Linked DNA regions of Homo sapiens: all the other regions are linked to region 3. Evidence: promoter capture Hi-C in 16 types of primary human blood cells and fetal thymus (Javierre and others, 2016). All regions are on one chromosome and are shown on one strand. The core of a region is centred on a gene start or on the middle of the fragment in contact, and the rest is flanking DNA. Distances in the headings are between cores, read along the strand shown. Region 1 holds the start of LOC105378899 (a long non-coding RNA gene). Region 2 holds the start of LAMTOR5 (late endosomal/lysosomal adaptor, MAPK and MTOR activator 5). Region 3 holds the start of UBL4B (ubiquitin like 4B).

Region 1 (3,987 bases), core at 1,203-3,702, 360 kb after region 3:
GCCCAGGCTGGAGCGCAGTGGTGCTATCTTGGCTCACTGCAGCCTCTACTTCCCTGGCTCAAGCAATCCTCCCTCAGCCTCAGCCTCCTGAGTAGCTGGGATTACAGGCATGCACCACCACCCCTGGCTAATTTTTGTATTTTTTTCTGGAGACAGGGTCTCACCATGTTGCCCAGGCTGGTCTTGAACTCCTGGGCTCAAGTGATCCACCTGCCTCTGCCTCTGGAAGTGGTAGGATTACAGGTATGAGCCACAGTGCCCAGCACAAACTGTATTTACAAAGCAAATCAATCACGATCTCAAGATGTGTGACCTGGTGCTAATGCCTCATTGTCCTGCAGAGGGCTCGTGTTCTGTATGTCCATCTTCGTCATCCCATTTTAGGACTGCCCTGTCCAGTCTTGGTGCCTAGGTATTGTGTGGTGGTGGGGACAGAGCTGGAAGGGACCTGTTTCCTACCAGAGAAACTTCTCACCCCATCCTCCTCTCTCCCACTCTGCTTTCCTCTTCTTTTTACCTCCCTACCTGAAAAATACTCTGAAATGGGATTTAGGACCTGTCTGCTAACCCCACTTCCCTGCAGCCCCCAGTGAATTTGGATCCATTTGCCTGTTTCCCGGGGCAGGGCCCTAGGCTGTGAGTAACCGGCTCTCTCCCTGTCTAGTTTCCACCTTCTTCCTCTGGACATGCGGGGTGGCATGTGTCAAATTTATAAATATGGTTTTGGAGAGGCCTTTGGATTATCTCAATCTTTAAAATCTTTTTATTTAGACATAATTTCAAACTTGCAGAAAGAGTTCTTACATACCTTAACCCAAATATCAGAAATGTTGACACCTCACCACATTTGCATTATTTTTCTGTCCGCTATTCCTCCCTCTCCCCTTCCCCTCTGCTTTTCTCTCTCTCACTCTCTCTAGGTATTAAAATATATATTATATTATATAATATGTAATATATTTATATATTTTATGTATAAAAATAAAACTTAAATATATATAAAATATATAATTATTGATATTTAATACATAAGTATAAAGAAAACACATAGCTATATAAATTATATAGAACATATATGTATGTTTTTCTTCCCCTGGATCTTTTAGGAAGCAAGTTGCAGACATAATACTCTTTTTTTTTTTGAGACGAAGTTTTGCTCTTGTTGTCCAGGCTGGAGTGCAATGGCGCGATCTCGGCTCACTGCAACCTCCACCTCCTGGGTTCAATCAATTCTCCTGCCTCAGCCTTCCAAGTAGCTGGGATTACAGGCACCCACCACCACGCCTGGCTAATTTTGTATTTTTAGTAGAGACCGGGTTTCACCATGTTGGCCAGGCTGGCCTTGAACTCCTGACCTCAAGTGATCCACCTGCCTCAGCCTCCTAAAGTGCTGGGATTACAGGCGTGAGCCACTGTGCCCGGCCTGACATAATACTCTTTACTTCAGTATTCCCCCCAAATCAAGGACATTTTCTTGTAAATATTAACATGAAAATTGGTACAAATATCGAAGTCAGGAAATTAATATCAGAACAATACTATCATCTGATGTAGACTATTTTGCCAATTGTCCTAATCATGCCCTTTACAGCAAAAGGAACATTGTTTTGGATTCTCTCTTGACACACAGGCAAGGGTGGGCTAGAGCCATGGCCAGCAGCCAGGAGGCTGGGTAGCCTCGGTCTTCCTCCCCGTGGTGGAGTCCAGTGGAGGCTCTACACCGCACCCTGGGCGAGAGAGAAAAGCCTGCCTGGTCCCGCCGGCGGCTGCCCAGGAGGAAAGTAGCCTTCATCCCCTGCTTTCCACTCGGCACCTTCTCTGCTTCCAGACATCTGCCCCCATCTCCACGGTGCCTGCTGGGCACTGTAGCAACAAAAATGCAAGTGTCAGCTCCGGCTTTGTGTTGTCACCATCCAGGGCCCTCATTCTAGAGTCATGCTACCTGAGTCTGAATCCTGGGCCTGCCCCTTACTGACTGTGTGATCTTGGGCAGGTTATTGAACTGATCTGTGCTTCGGTTCCCTTAAAATGAGACAGATAGTACCTCATTTACAGGATTGTGGTGGTGTGTGGCTGGGAAGAAGTGATTTTATACATGTAAAGGGCTTAGGATGCTGCCTGGTCAGTGGCCATGCTTGCCAACATTCATTGTTATGTGATCAAGCTTGATGCTTTGCTGAGGGGGCAGCTGGATCTCTCCTCACCACTTCCCAAATTAGCTTGAAATGTTAGTGGCAGGAGCATCATGAAACTGATGTCTAGTCCTCTAGTTGGGAGCATCAAAGAGGGTCCAGACTAGGGGGAGGAGGATCTCCCAGGGGTCATCTCATCTCTCACTCTGTATCTAAGTCAGCATCTCAGTGTTACCTTGATCAGTGCAGCACCTGTCAGCTGAGTTTCCCGGCTAGATCTGCCTAGGGATGTGCTAGATGCTCCCCAGGACTAGCCCCATTATATCCCTTCTAGCCAGCTGTTCTGAAATTTATACCTGGGGTTTGTTTTAATTAGGTATGGTAGGACATGCAGACATGGACATGATTGTCATGAAGGAAGAAGTTTATACTTACAGACCCCTAGACATAGGAGGCATGTAGGGCCACATTGGGAAGCACTGGGGTCAGTCAGGAGGTGGAGGTTGGGGGGGAGTTGTCTGGGGTGGTCAAGGGAAAGGAAATTGTGACATAGAGCCTTTATTGCATTATTACATGAAGGAATGGGTGACACAGGGTAGGTATTCTGAGTAAGCTTAGAATTGTATAGTTTGAGTAATTTCAGCGGACTCTGGGCTGGAGGAGTGGTATTTGACCCTGGGGTGGTTTAGGGCAGGGAGAAAATTGGCTTGCTTTTTGAGAGTTTGATAAAGGAGAGGGTTGGGGGTGTGGGCTGTGGGTGGGTTGGTTCGTATATCAAAGACAGGCTCACAGGGGAGTCTTTCGCCATGCCTAGGAATTAGCTAGTCCTGTGAGGGCAGTCTCTCAAGGATCAAGGCCCCAGATGCCAGAGCATCAAGAATATGGAAAATCAGAGAACATGATCAATATACCAGCTCATCCCTGGATGAAGCTCCCTGCCTTTCCTCATACAGGCGAGTGCTCTACTCTCCCTTCCCCAGTAGCACTGGTCCGTAAGCCAAGGAAAGGACTCATGCATTGAATTATACTTAGTTGCCTACACGTCTGTGTGTTCCACTGGACTACAAGCTCCCTGAGGGCAGGGAGAGGAGCTTACTCACCTCTACATGCTCAGTGCTTGGCACAAGGGCCAGGTGACCTCATTGGCAGAGGAGGAGGTGTTGCTGTGGTGGGCCACAGGCCACTGACTGTCCATATGTGGGTCACGTGGGCACTTACTCCCTGATTTCAGCCACTGGAGACCTCTTTTGGGAAGGAAGTCCCATGGCCTCATTTGCTTACTTCTGTATATAGCTGTTGAGTGAATGGGAGGATGAATTTAACATTTACTGAGTGCTTATTTTAGGTCAGGCATTGTTCTAGGTGTTTAGAGTTACAGAGAAAATTCAGACAAAATTCCTGCCCTAGAGTTCTTAGTCCAGAGGGAGGCTGATGTGTAAGCCATCACTGAGCAGTGAGATAAGCACTCTGAGAACATCCCAGACCGAGGAGCAAACTGCGCTGGTGGTGGAGTGGGTGGTTACTGCAGACAATGTGGGTGGGCTCAACAGAACCTGATTGTCTGCTTCCACTATACAGACAAAAAAGTGCAATCCTCAATTTTCCGGCCTACCTTGTAGCTGGGAGCTATAAAATGAAGTTCATCAGGCATGAGCGGTCTGCTGGTACTGCTTCTTCCCGCTTCCCCTTCTTCTTGCTTTGGGATGGGATGCGATGTTTGCTGCTGTAACAGCCATTTGCAGCCATAAGGAAAAGGCCAAATGAATTGCAGTGGTGTCCATTGAACCAATTCTGTATTTTTCTGGACTTCTTGTTTTGTGAGAAAAATAAACTGCTATTTAAACCACTGTAGTCA
Region 2 (3,718 bases), core at 84-2,583, 300 kb after region 3:
AATGGAGGGATTCTTCATTCTAATTCCAGGAACACAAGAGAGTTGAAGTACATAATGGGAGAAAAAGGATTTAAATAAGTACAAACATACAGGTGTTCTATGTACCAGGCATTAAGTGCTTTAAATCAATATTTCTCAATCTTTTTTCATTGTCACACCCTAAGAAAAAAATTAAGTTCTAGGGCCGGGCGCGGTTGCTCACGCCTGTAATCCCAGCACTTTGGGAGGCCCAGGTGGGCGGATCACCTGAGGTCGGGAGTTCAAGACCAGCCTGACCAACATGGAGAAACCCCGTCTCTACTAAAAATACAAAATTAGCCAGGCGTGGTGGCGCATGACTGTAATCCCAGCTACTCGGGAGGCTGAGGCAAGAGAATCGCTTGAACCTGGGAGGCGGAGGTTGCAGTGAGCCGAGATCACGCCATTGCACTCCAGCCTGGAAGACGAGCGAAATTCCGTCTCAAAAAAAGAACACAAAAAATTTAAGTTCTAGTTAATTAATTGAAATAAACCAGTTTCTCTCTGATGAGAGAAAAAAATGTGCTAAGTACTGCTGAGTTCTGGAGGGCCACAAACACTGCGTGAAAAACATCTAGGATGTTTTCACTCTTGTTAAAAACGCATGTTTTAGTACTAACTCATTTAAAACAACTGTTGAAAAACTCAAGTTACCTCCTGGAGGGTAAGTGGAAGCTGAGGGACATCGGTGGGAGGCAGGTGTCTCTCTGTACCCTTTACACTTTTCCAGTTTTGAATTTTACATAGATACTGCTTGTTCGAAAAATTTAAAGAATGATTTTTATCTACTTAAGCACCAAGTAACTGATAGGTTACACACAGGAGATACGTGTTTGTTTACACTGCAGGGCTCGACACTGCACAACTGGCACAATCTTCCCAAAAGTCAACCCGTTTTCTAAAACTTCCGCAGAACCACCCTGACCGTAAAGACGATTTCAACAACGAGATAGGCAGTTTTGGCCCGTGGCCTGGGCCCGGGAGACTCGCTCAAGAGGGAATGTGCGGTGCCCGGCAGGATTTTAATTCCGGGTCACCCGCCCCGCCCTGCGGCCTTGGGTAGAGTTTAGCCCCCTCATCCCGTGTCCCGGGGGTCGCGCGACGTCCCCGAGACGCCCTGGCCGGTACTCGCAGCTCGCGCCTTTCGTTCCGCTCAAGTTCCTCCGCCGCGACCTCAGGACAGGCCGAAGAGGCGCGCACTACTCACGTGTCTTCCAAGTGCTGCTCCAAGGTCGCCTCCATCCCACCCACCGACCACTCCGGCTCAGAACCCAGCGGCACGGCACGTCCTTCTCCACCACAGGCCTCAGTCACTTGACGCGAGCGGGGCGTGGACCGTAACGGCGCCTCCAAAGGGACAAAATTGATCACGGTGCAACGTCCGCGTTCTTTACTGGAAAACATCACTGCGCTTCCGTCGCACAGAGCCTGACGAAGGCTTGGGCTCCCCGCGCGGTGACCGTCGAGGTGACCTGCACCTGGCTCCATGGCGGAACCGGCCGGCACGGATTATTCCCCTCTCGGGAGAGGTCTGCAGCCGGGCCTCAGTGCTTCAGTTCGTGGCCTGGCATTTTGTGTCAGTGTTTTTTAACCTTTGGACCCTAGTTCAACCGACTCCGAGACCTAGGGGACAGATCTTAAGTTTTACAATAACCCAGGGGTCAGACAGGGTCTGATCTAGCCTGTGGGGCAAGTACGGGGAAGACACGGGACCTCTTGGAGGGGGTCAGTAGGCTTGTAGGGGGAAAGACGCACACAGAGACTAAAGGACGAGATGGAGCAAGGTTCAACCCCCTAGCTGAGTGTTGGCAGTGTCGGGATTTTAACGAAGACATTGGTGCTTATTATGGTGAGGGGACTCAGGACAGTTTAGGGGAAGAGAGTGGCATTTGAGTCCTAACTCGTAAGGAAGACTGGGTAGGACTACTTGAAAATAACTTTTAAAAATTAATTATAAAGCTGGTAAAAATAGGAAAACATCTATGGCCCCACTGTCCAAAGACGACTTTTAACTTCTTGGAGAATATCCTTTCAGATAGTTGTCTTTGTAAATGTATACTTTTAATGTTTTTTCGTTTGCCTTTTTAAAATAAATTTTTTGGGGGACAGGGTCTTGCTCTGTTACCCAGGCTGTAGTGCAGTAGAACGATTATAGCTCATTGCAACCCGGACGTCCTGGGTTCAAGCTATCCTCACCTCTCAGCCTCTCGACTGGCTAGGACCACAGCCTCGAGCCATCATGTCTGGCTAATTTTTACGTTTTTTTGTAGAGATGGGGGTCTCGCTGTGTTGTCCAGGCTGGTCTTAAACTCCTTGCTTCAACAGATCCTCCCACTCCAGCCTCCCAAAATGTGATTACAGGCTGAGTCACCACGCCTAGCATGGTTTTTTTTGTTTTGTTTGTTTTGTAAGCAAAATTGACATACATACTGGAGGTACAATTCTGTAGCTGGCCTTCTTTACAGAGTTTAGAATAAATGTCTTTCCATGTCAAGTTTTCACTTACATCCTTTGTAGTAGTTGCAAAATATTCCATTTTATAGCTGTATCTTAATTGTGGATTAAGGTTGGAGTGCAGTGGCACTATCATGGCTTAGTCCAGCCTCAGCCTTCTAGGTTCAAGCGATCTTCCCACCTCAGCCTCCCAAGAAGCTGGGACTACAGGGACCCGCCACCCCACCTAGCTAATTAAAAAAAAAATTGTAGAGATGGAGTCTCAGTGTGTAGCCCAGTCTCAAGTGACCCTCCCTCGTTGGCTTCCCAAAGCGCTGAGATTGCAGGTGAGCCACTGTACTTGGACTTTTTTTTTTTTTTTTGCTTTTGTTTGTTTTTTGTTTTAGCTATTACAATGCTGGTTGAATATCCTCATAGCTAAATATCTGTGCAGTTTTAAAATTTCCTTATAAGTTACTAGAAATGGAATGACTGGGTTAAAGGACATGATCATTTTTTAAGACTCTTGATACATACTTACAAATTGCCTCCCGAAAAAGTGGTGCTAATTTACTCAAATTGGTAAGCCTCACCCCCTCTGTGGATCATTCCTTGCACTAAGTTTCTTCCAACTCTGTCACCTCCAGCTTTTTACTCACAGCCTACCTTCCAATCTGGGGCCCAGCTCCCAGATCGGAAGATACCAGACTTTGGTATTGAACCAAAGTCCAATACACTGCACTGGCATTCAGAGTCCCTTTTTATTCCGCAGCTGTCATAGTGAAGCTTGCAGCTTCCTTGAAATTCCAGTTTGTTTATTTCTTTATTTTTTTGAGACAGAGTCTTGCTCTATCGCCCAGGCTGGAGTGCAGTGGCGCCGTCTCAGCTCACTGCAACCTCTGCCTCCTGGTTCAAGCGATTCTTCTGCCTCAGCCTCCCGAGTAGCTGGGATTACAGGCATGCACCACCACACGTGGCTAATTTTTGTGCTTTTAGTAGAGATGGGGTTTCACCATGTTGGCCAGGCTGGTCTCAAACTCCTGACCTCAAGCGATCCGCCCACCTCAGCCTCCCAAAGTGCTGGGATTATAGGCATGAGCCATTGCACCCAGCCAAAATTCCAGTTTGAATGTTATAATTCAGGGGTCTTGGACTCCTGCTCTAGAGAAATTATTCATGTTAAGTTAGGGGTAACACAGTACAGGCCATATAAGTTTTAGAAAAAGCAGTTTAAAACTTAGCATTAGAAAACATAAGTACTGCCTGG
Region 3 (3,642 bases), core at 361-2,860:
GAGAGTTGAGGGGATCCCTGACAAAATCAGCCCACTGGCTGCGAGACGTTATTCAGGTCTTCTCCAAAGTTGCTCAGTTCTAAAATGAGACAATACTTTCCTCCCAGGCTAAATTGTGACAACATATATAAAGGGCTTGACCCAGAAGGCCTTCAGCAATGTGTTGCACTGAAAACTGCCAAATGCTGCAGAAGTTGCAGACACAGAGGAGGCCCAATCAGTGTCCTTTTTCATATTCACCTTTGAGCCGGGGGTGCCTGCTCAGGGCCTGGGCCACAAAAGGCACTGAGCAGAGATTTGTTTAGGAGGCAACATGAGGTAACAGTGAAGACAAGAGCAATTCTGCCTGCTTGCTGTAGGATCAGCCAAGCCTCCACTTTCTCCTCTGGCAGATGGAGATCATGGCAGTGCCTGCCTCATAGGTTGAGAGGATTCAATTAGGCAGGCCTGTGATGCAGATGCTGTGGGCTGTCCTGCCCCATCCCCTCAGCACTCACATTCCTGAGGGCCCGATGGCTTCCTACTTTTCTGTGGTCACAGGAGCATGCTGCTTAACACCTGTGGACCAGAAGTGCCAAGGAGGTAGCACTTCTATTAGCCAAAGACAGGAGTCAGAGCATAAAGATGCAGGTTCGGCCAGGTGCGGTGGCTCACGCCTGTAACCTCAGCACTTTGGGAGGCCAAAGCAGGCAGATTGCTTGTGTCTGGGAGTTTGAGATCAGCCTGGGCAGCATGGAGAAACCCATCTCTACTAAAAATACAAAAATTAGCCAGGCATGGTGGCGTGCAGCTGTAGCCCCAGTTACTTGGGAGGCTGACACAGGAGAATTACTTGAACCCAGGAAACGGAGGTTGCAGTGAGCCGAGATCATGCCACTGCACTCCAGCCTGGGCAACAGAGTGAGACCCTGTCTCAAAAAACAAAAAAAAAAACAAAAAAACCACACCTGGTGCAACTCAGGTGTGTTCCATGCAACCTCCCAGAACTCCCCAGCAGGATAACATACTAGTTGCCCACAATGGCAACCTGCTCATGAATGCACGTTTTGATTTCCCTCCCGTCCTCATCTCACATCCTCACTCCCCTCCTGGTGCCTCCTGGGATCACCTCCTAATTGAGTACTTGTTCTCAAATCCCTGTCTCAGTGTCTGCTGCTGGAAAGCCCAATCCAAAAGAGCGTGTAAAGTGCTTGACAGAAAGAGGACGCTTGATAAATGCTAGCCAGCTCACTAGTGTGAAAGTGTCATGAAGGCAGAAGTCATCCATCTGAATATGACTGTCTCCCCAGGTCCAGGTGCTGGCACAGAGGTGGCACCTAATACACATGTGTTGAAGAAATCAATAGACATGCTCCTCCCACCACCCTGTCCTTTCCCTCCCTCCCTTTCCCTAGTCTCACTCTCATTTCCCCCAGTCCCACATTTTCTTTCCTAGTGCTCTTTTTCTCCTCTCGTGGAGGAAGGATGCTCTGGGCCCAAATACCCCTTTGCTGTCCCAAAAGTTCCACTCTGGAAATGAGCCCCCCCGCAGCATTGTGACATCACCGTGCACTAGCCAATGGCTGCCTGCCTAAGCTGGGTCCCTGGTCTCCTGGGACTACTAGCCCTTTGTTGATAGGGAGAAGCCAACATCTCCCGCAGGACCCCCTAATCTTCAGGGCAGCTCCCAGAGCATGGATCCCTCCTGATTCCACTCAGCCCGATGTTCCTCACAGTCAAGCTGCTCCTGGGCCAGAGATGCAGTCTGAAGGTGTCAGGGCAAGAGAGTGTAGCCACGCTGAAGAGACTGGTGTCCAGGCGGCTGAAGGTGCCTGAGGAGCAGCAGCACCTGCTTTTCCGTGGCCAGCTCCTGGAGGATGACAAGCACCTCTCTGACTACTGCATTGGGCCCAATGCCTCTATCAATGTCATCATGCAGCCCTTGGAGAAGATGGCGCTAAAGGAGGCCCACCAGCCGCAGACCCAGCCCCTGTGGCACCAGCTGGGACTGGTCCTAGCTAAACACTTTGAACCACAGGATGCCAAGGCCGTGCTGCAGCTGCTAAGGCAGGAGCACGAGGAGCGCCTGCAGAAGATAAGCCTGGAGCACCTGGAGCAGCTGGCCCAGTACCTCCTGGCAGAGGAGCCTCACGTGGAGCCAGCTGGAGAGAGGGAGCTTGAGGCGAAGGCACGGCCTCAGAGCTCCTGTGACATGGAGGAGAAGGAGGAGGCAGCAGCTGATCAGTAAACGGGCCATCCTACCCATTTGCATGCTAAAATTCTCCCGGCCTCATCCTTACGTGTTCCCTGGTGACTTTTCCTACTACTTCCTGCTGATGTGGATGCGTCCACACCCCTTTTTGAACCTTCCAAGCAGCTGGAGGGTTTTTGGATCCCTGTCCCCTCTTGGGCCTGAGGTCCTCCCTCTGAAATGCAGAGTGAACCAACCCTCATCACCATGCTTCCCCTAGAAGGGTTCTGATCACCGGAGGGCAGCCCCAAAGGCCACAGTCCCCTCCTGTGCTGGCAGCTTTGCCCACACATACCCAGCAGCTCCCCAGGCTGAAAGCAGCCCTGGCCCAGGGTCTCCATGGTTCTAGGCAGACCCTCTTTCTCCTTCGGGACAGAAAGACAATGTGAGTTCATTTTCCTCCATCCTCAGACCGTGACATCTCCCCTAGGCTCCCCAGCAGCCAAGAGGAGAGGAATGTCAGGTAGCTGCCCCTTGCCTTCTGGGTGAGGCTGCCCCTGCTGTTCTCCTGCTTGTGCTTCCAGCTTAAGGGACAGGCACAGCAGAGGTGAGAGTGGGAGGAGGGCACGTACCGGGTGCCAGCCCTGGAGCCCTCAGGGAGACAGACACAGACCAAGAATAGCAGGAAACTGAGCCTCAGGCAGAAAAAAAGTTCAGCAAAGTCATACACTCCCTGTGGCCAGCGTGAACAGAGCCATGCCCCACCCTCCCAGACTGATCAGTCAGTAGGTATCACAGCTCACATTACCTGCCCAGCGCTGCCCAAGGCTCCCTGGAAGGAAAAATGGTATCTGTCAATGAGGATCCTTGCCCTCACAGAGCACGCAGCCTAGATGCAGAGAGCTGCTATACATGTGAAAAGTAAAGTGGTGACATGAAACTAGAGTCTAGTGTGTGTGACTGAATGCACGGGGCCTCACGGGGCCCTGGGTTCAGCATAGAGGGGCCAGTCCCCTGCAGACTACGAGGAAAGCCAGGCCCTTTACTCTGTTCTTTGAGTGAGAGAGTGGCCCTTGCAGAGGCTGAGGAGTCCCCACACTCTGTGTGTGAGTGGGAGGGAGTGGGGAGCTGTGGTCCCCCATTCACTGCTGAAGCCCCTGAAATGCTGTTATTGCAAAAGTTTCAGTCCTGAGTGATGGGGATGGAGGGAAGGGGTGGAGGAGAATGTCTTGAACAAGCAGGGCCCCCTTCCCTAGGAAGCATCCTGTCCTTGGCCTGCAGGGCCCCTCATCCTCTCTTCCAGTCCGAGTCCAGCTGTGTGGCCATGGGTAACCTGCTTTTCCTGTCTGATGCTCAGGTTTCCCACCTGTTGCATGGGCATCCTTATAACAGCATCTACTTACCCCATGAGTGTTGGTGACGGTTAGAGGCAAAGACTGTCCAACTGGGAGGGATGTCTTCTAGTGGTGGGC

What was found. Contacts are between HindIII fragments. The CHiCAGO score rates a contact against its expected background, and 5 or more counts as called.
Region 1: a fragment that was not itself captured here is called in contact with the fragment with the promoter of UBL4B in region 3 in 1 of 17 cell types (fetal thymus); the score reaches 5.3 in fetal thymus.
Region 2: a contact is called between the fragment with the promoter of LAMTOR5 here and the fragment with the promoter of UBL4B in region 3, in 8 of 17 cell types (naive CD8 T cells, erythroblasts, M0 macrophages and 5 more). The highest score is 7.9, in naive CD8 T cells.

Annotation. Positions count from the first base shown.
Region 1 is chr1:110,470,998-110,474,984 of GRCh38, forward strand. LOC105378899 (a long non-coding RNA gene) reads right to left here and starts at 2,649. Exons shown (of 2, transcript XR_947699.2): 1 at 2,568-2,649; 2 at 1,545-1,863. LOC105378898 (a long non-coding RNA gene) reads left to right here and starts at 2,760. Exons shown (of 2, transcript XR_001738181.1): 1 at 2,760-2,797; 2 at 2,947-3,085. The HindIII fragment of the contact is 581 bases long and covers 2,163-2,743 here.
Region 2 is chr1:110,406,361-110,410,078 of GRCh38, forward strand. LAMTOR5 (late endosomal/lysosomal adaptor, MAPK and MTOR activator 5) reads right to left here and starts at 1,334. Exons shown (of 4, transcript NM_001382293.1): 1 at 1,226-1,334; 2 at 1-19. The coding sequence starts at 1,260. LAMTOR5-AS1 (LAMTOR5 and SLC16A4 antisense RNA 1) reads left to right here and starts at 1,449. Exons shown (of 3, transcript NR_102697.1): 1 at 1,449-1,594. RefSeq lists an enhancer at 1,276-1,505. The HindIII fragment of the contact is 8,453 bases long and covers 1-3,235 here.
Region 3 is chr1:110,110,833-110,114,474 of GRCh38, forward strand. It overlaps UBL4B (ubiquitin like 4B), which reads left to right and starts at 1,611. Exons shown (of 1, transcript NM_203412.2): 1 at 1,611-3,115. The coding sequence starts at 1,703. The coding sequence ends at 2,227. The HindIII fragment of the contact is 8,258 bases long and covers 1-3,642 here.